Linked DNA regions of Homo sapiens: region 2 is linked to region 1. The links are contacts of gene promoters, found by promoter capture Hi-C in blood cells and fetal thymus (Javierre and others, 2016). All regions are on one chromosome and are shown on one strand. The core of a region is centred on a gene start or on the middle of the fragment in contact, and the rest is flanking DNA. Distances in the headings are between cores, read along the strand shown. Region 1 holds the start of H2AZ2 (H2A.Z variant histone 2). Region 2 overlaps UBE2D4 (ubiquitin conjugating enzyme E2 D4).

Region 1 (2,689 bases), core at 73-2,572:
CGGCTCACAACAGTCTGAGCTCTGTGAGGTCTGCAAAATGTATTAGGCCTAGAGGGACATGAGTATGGGACTTCGGTTATGCCCACCCTCTGCCCCCACATACACACATACCCAATCCCATGCATACCCAATTGTTTAAAGTCATTTCATTCCTGACTATCGGCCTCATCCATTACCTTTTTTTTTATTATTATTTTTTAGACAGGGTATATTCTGTCTCCCAAGCTGGAGTGCAGTGGTGCGATCATGACTCACTGCAGCCTCGACCTCCTGGGCTCAAGAGATCCTCCTGTCTCAGTCTTGACAGTAGGTGAGGCTACAGGTTCGCGCCACCAAGCCGGCCCCATTATCTTCGTGTTCTTAGAATTTGTAATACATGCCGGGCGCGGTGGCTCACGCCTGTAATCCCAGTACTTTGGGAGGCAAAGGGGGGCAGATCACCTGAGGTCAGGAGTTCGAGACCAGCCTGACCAACACGGAGAAACCCCGTCTCTATTAAAAATACAAAAGTTAGCTGGGCATTGGGGCGCGCGCCTGTAGTCCCAGGACTCCATCTCTAAAAAAGGAAAAAGAATTTGTCATACAAATAACAATATGTAGCCAATTGATAGCTTTTGTTTTTGTTTGTTTGTTTTGAGACGATGCGTCGCCCAGCTGGAGTGCAGTGGCGCGATCTCGGCTCACTGCAACCTCCGCCTCCGGGGTTCAAGCGATTCTCCCGCCTCAGCCTGCCGCGGACCTTGTCAGGGTCCGCGCTGAGAGGACGTCAGGGTAGTCAGTCCGCCAGAATACGGCTGAGCATGAGGCCTGCCTAACCTTGAAACCCAGCGCCCTCCTGATCCACACGTTCTAAGACGAATAAATCCTCACAGTCTGTGAAAACCCACCAGGAGAAGCACGTCCAACACTCTTTACCTCCCCAAACAAGTCTCAGAAGCGGGAAAACCAACGCCGCGAATGGGCGGGAAAGCCACAGCGCCTGCAATCGCTTCACCTTATTAGCTAATTTTGCTGTCCTTCCCAGTGGCCCGCCTCCCTTGCTCGCGGGCGATATTTTTATTGGCTTTCGTCTGCGAGGCGTCCAATCTCATTGGTTTGCCTTTCTGTTCGTCAGGCTTGGGCGCCTGGTGAAAGGCAGAGAGCGCGTCACTATTGGGGCTGGAGGCCCCGCCTCCGCGTGCCGTGTGCAAAAACAAACAGCCGTTAGGAAGGCGGTGCCGGGGGGGCGGGGTCTGGCTAGAAGGAGGCGCGCGATTGAACAGCCGCTGGGGTTCGAACCAGCAAGACAAGCGGGCATTGGCCACAGCAGCGCGAGGCGGGCACGGGGTATTGTCCGGCTCCGGCGGCGGCGGTCGGTGCTGCGAGAGCGGCGGCGGCGGCGCGGGTCGGCAGCGGGAGGGCGCGCGGCCGAGCGGAGGCGGAGTCGGCGCCGAGAACATGGTAAGGGCGGCCGGGTGGGCCGGGGGCACGGGGCCTGGGAGAGCAGAGCGCGGAGGCCCTGGCGTCGGCGCCGCTACCTGTGGAGTCGGGAGTTTGCGGGTGTCTGGGCTTCGTCCGGCCGAGCCCCTCGCCGCCCGCCGGGGGGCGCCATGTCCCAGCTGCGGAGCCCGACACGGGTCCCCGGGTGAGAGCTGGGCCTGGCCGGGTAGAGCGCGAAGTCTGTTCCGAGCCGGATAGATCTGTCCCGACGCTTGTGACGCTGCACCGCCCGTCTTAGAAGGAGGAGGACGGCAGAATCCGGCTTGGAAATGTAGAAACAAGTGCTGGATCTTAATGTGATCGCTTCTCTGTATGAATGAGGTCAAACAGGCTGCCGCTGTACAAGTTAGATAAGTCTTTGGCGATGTTTGGTTACGTAATCTCCCTGGCAGTCAGTTTGAGGGTTTCTGCGAAAGGGTGCTTGTATTTGTGGTCTTTTGAGCGACAAAGAATGGTTTTATAGACCAGAACCACACGATTTGTTCTAGGTGATTGCACAGGTTAGAAATGAACGCCCGTTATCTTCTGAGCCCCTTGCAGTTTGCGGTTTTCATTATACAACAGTACTTTCCTTTGCCCTTGCTATGGATTTTCAGTCTTAAAGTATTCATCTTTTCATTCTGAAATTCAGATCTAGATAAGAAGAGTGTGGCTTTAAAAAAATGAAAGTGAATAGAACTTCAGCCCCATTTTAAAGTTGAGGGGAAAAGAGAAGGTGCTAAAGGATACGCTCTGAGTTGCATCAAAGATTGTGTAAAAATAATAAGACTGTTATGGAATCTTATTTTTGCCGGTATTCGTGCTTTAAGCATTCTGTTGAAAGGTTACTTCAACGGGAGCTACCTGCTTAAAAGTTAGCACCAAGCTGTCATTTATCATACTGCAGATAGTATTAGATGATTTGTCTTGTGCTTGATGTGACAGATATGGTATTGAATAGACATAACACCTAACTGTAAACAGATTGGCCAGTCGAGAGGACAATGTTTGGTTATTGTAAAATACCCAAATCTTAGAGCTGGAATAGACTTTAGGGATAATTGCTTCCAACGTCTAACGTATAGTTTATTGTTATTGTAAAAAACCCAAATCTTAGAGCTGGAATAGACTTTAGGGATAATTGCTTCCAACGTCTCACGTATAGTTTATTGTTATTGTAAAGTACTTTATAGTACTTTATCAAACTGAGGTACAGCTTACATCTAATCTG
Region 2 (2,689 bases), core at 109-2,608, 920 kb after region 1:
GTAATCTCCAACGTTGAGGGTGGGGCCTGGTGGGAAGTGATTGGTTTAGTACAATCCACTTGGTATTATCCTCTTCTCACAAGATCTGGTTGTTTCAAAGTATGTCATGGGCCAGGCACAGTGGCTCACTTTGTGCCTGTAATCCCAGCACTTTGGGAGGCCAAGGCGGGTGGATCACGAGGTCAGGAGATCGAGACCATCCTGGCTAACATGGTGAAACCCCGTCTCTCCTAAAAATACAAAAAATTAGCTGGGTGTGGTGGCAGGCGCCTGTAGTCCCAGCTACTCAGGGAGGTTGAGGCTGGAGAATGGTGTGAACCTGGGAGGCAGAGCTTGCAGTGAGCCGAGATCGTGCCACTGCACTCCAGCCTGGGCGACAGAGCAAGACTCTGTCTCAAAAAAAAAAGTGTGTCATGGCCAGGCACAGTGGCTCATGCCTGTAATCCCAGCACTTTGGGAGGCCCAAGTGGGTGGATCGCTTGAGCTCAGGAGTTCAAGACCAGCCTGGCAACATGGCAAAACCCCGTCTCTACTAAAAATACAAAAAAAAGTAGCCAGGCATGGTGGCACACACTACTCCAGAGGCTGACACAGGAGAATCAGTTGAACCAGAGAGACGGAGGCTGCAGTGATCAGAAATTGCACCACTGCACTCCAGCCTGGGTGACAGAGACCCTGTCTCAAAAATAAATAAATAAATAAATAAAAGTGTGGAGCACCTCCCCTTGTTCTCTCTCTTGCTCCTGTTCTGGCCATGTGACATGCCTGCTCTGCCACCCCCCCCGCCCCCCCACCCCGGTTTGCCTTCCACAGTGAGTGTGAGTTTCCCCTCCTCTGAAGCAGAGCAGACACTAGTGCCATACTTCCTGTACAGCCTGCGGAACTGTGAGCCAATTAAAACTCTTCTTCCTAAATTACCTCATCTCAGGTTTTCTGTTTTGTTTGTTTGTTTGTTTTTTAAGATACGGTCTTACTCTGTCACCCAGGTTGGAGTGCAGTGGCACGATATCGGCTCACTGCAACCTCCACCTCTGTCTGGCTCAAGCGATCCTTCCACCTCAGCCACCTGAGTAGCTGGGACCATAGGCACATGCCAAGAACCATGCCTGTCTAATTTTTTCTATTTTTGGTAGAGCTGGGGTTTTGCCATGTTGCCCAGGCTGGTCTTGAACTCCTGAGCTCAGGCCATCCACCTGCCTTAGCCTCCCAAAGTGCTAGGATTACAGGCATGGGCCACCTCATCCAGCCTTCAGGTATTTCTTTTTTTCTTTTTTTTTTTTTTGAGACAGAGTCTCACTCTATCACCCAGGCTGGAGTGTAGTGGCATGATCGCTCACTGAAACCTCTGCCTCCCGGGTTCAAGCAAGTCTCCTGCCTCAGCCTTCCAAGTAGCCAGGATTACAGGCACATGCCACCATACCCAGCTAATTTTTGTATTTTTAGTGGATATGGGGTTTCACCATGTTGACCAGGACCTAACCTCAGATGATCTGCCCGCCTCAGCCTCCCAAAATGCTGGGATTACAGACATGAGCCACTGTGCCTGGCCAGGTATTTCCTAACAGCAATGCAAGAATGGACTAATACACGTATCAAAGAGAAAAAAAACCATTAAAAAATTGAAATGCTGCCACATATAACCCTGTCCTGGTTGAGAACAGTGGCTCACACCTGTAATCCCAGCACTTTAGGAGGCTGAGGTGGGAGGATTACATGAGCCTAGGAGTTTGAGACCAGCCTGGGCAACATGGTGAAATCCACTCTCTACAAAAAATTTTAAATTAGCCAGATGTGGTGGCAGGCACCTGTAATCCCAGCTACTGGGAAAGCTAAGTGGGAGGACTGCTTGAGCCCAGGAGGTCAAGGCTGCAGTGAGCTATGATTGAGCCACTGCACTACAGCCTAGGTAACAGAGCAAGACCCTGTCTCAAAAAACTAACTAACTAACTAACTAACTAAAAAGTGCATCTAAAAATATTCAATTTGAAACATTCATTTGAAAACATTTTTTTAAAGGGTTGAAGTTGGTTAGAAAGGGCTGTGGATTGGAAACTAAGGGGGCAGCTAGTAGACACCACACACCTGGCTCAGGCTTGCATACTGCTGGCTACCTGCTCAGCACCCATCCGCCTTCCTCCTTTCTGAAGGACTGCTGTTCAGTTCTGGTCAACTCACTGTCAGCTCCAGGTCTAAGAGTAACCAGACTCCTTGCCACTCATTGGTTTCGGAATGAGCATGAGACATAATTCATAACAAGGCAAAGGGAAAAAAAGATCTGCTGGGCTTTCTGAGAATATTCTTATCAGTTCTTCTGGAAGCAGTTGTCTCTATTACTCCCAGATGTCCAGCAGGCTGTGTGTTCCAGAGCCATTCAGCCCAGAGTGACACAGGAACAGACCAGGAGAGGGGGACTGAGTTGCTCCCAAAGTCCTGCCACAGGACCTCCAATTCCATGCACAAGGGCAGCTCAGCCTCTGTCACTTGCAGCCAAGACATCCTAACTAGTGGTGGCCCAATGGTGCCATCTCACCACGGCAGGCTTGACACACTTTTAAAGTTGTATTTCCTACAATTCTGTTGTTTTTCCCCAGGAATTGCTACAGAATTTGCAGGGCCTTGTGAATGTGAAAATGTAGGGTCTCAAGTTCGATAATTATTAAGAATTTCCTGATAGTGACAGCAGAGCATA

Evidence for each region. Contacts are between HindIII fragments. The CHiCAGO score rates a contact against its expected background, and 5 or more counts as called.
Region 2: a fragment that was not itself captured here is called in contact with the fragment with the promoter of H2AZ2 in region 1 in 1 of 17 cell types (activated CD4 T cells); the score reaches 5.5 in activated CD4 T cells.

Annotation. Positions count from the first base shown.
Region 1 is chr7:44,846,720-44,849,408 of GRCh38, reverse strand. It overlaps H2AZ2 (H2A.Z variant histone 2), which reads left to right and starts at 1,322. Exons shown (of 5, transcript NM_012412.5): 1 at 1,322-1,440. The coding sequence starts at 1,438. H2AZ2-DT (H2AZ2 divergent transcript) reads right to left here and starts at 938. Exons shown (of 2, transcript NR_187581.1): 1 at 888-938. RefSeq lists silencers at 987-1,046, 1,307-1,696 and enhancers at 623-1,181, 1,182-1,739. The HindIII fragment of the contact is 6,622 bases long and covers 1-2,689 here.
Region 2 is chr7:43,929,714-43,932,402 of GRCh38, reverse strand. The region is part of intron 1 of UBE2D4 (ubiquitin conjugating enzyme E2 D4); the gene reads right to left. Among named protein-coding and RNA genes, the nearest start is that of UBE2D4, 4.6 kb to the right of the region's middle. The HindIII fragment of the contact is 5,962 bases long and covers 1-2,689 here.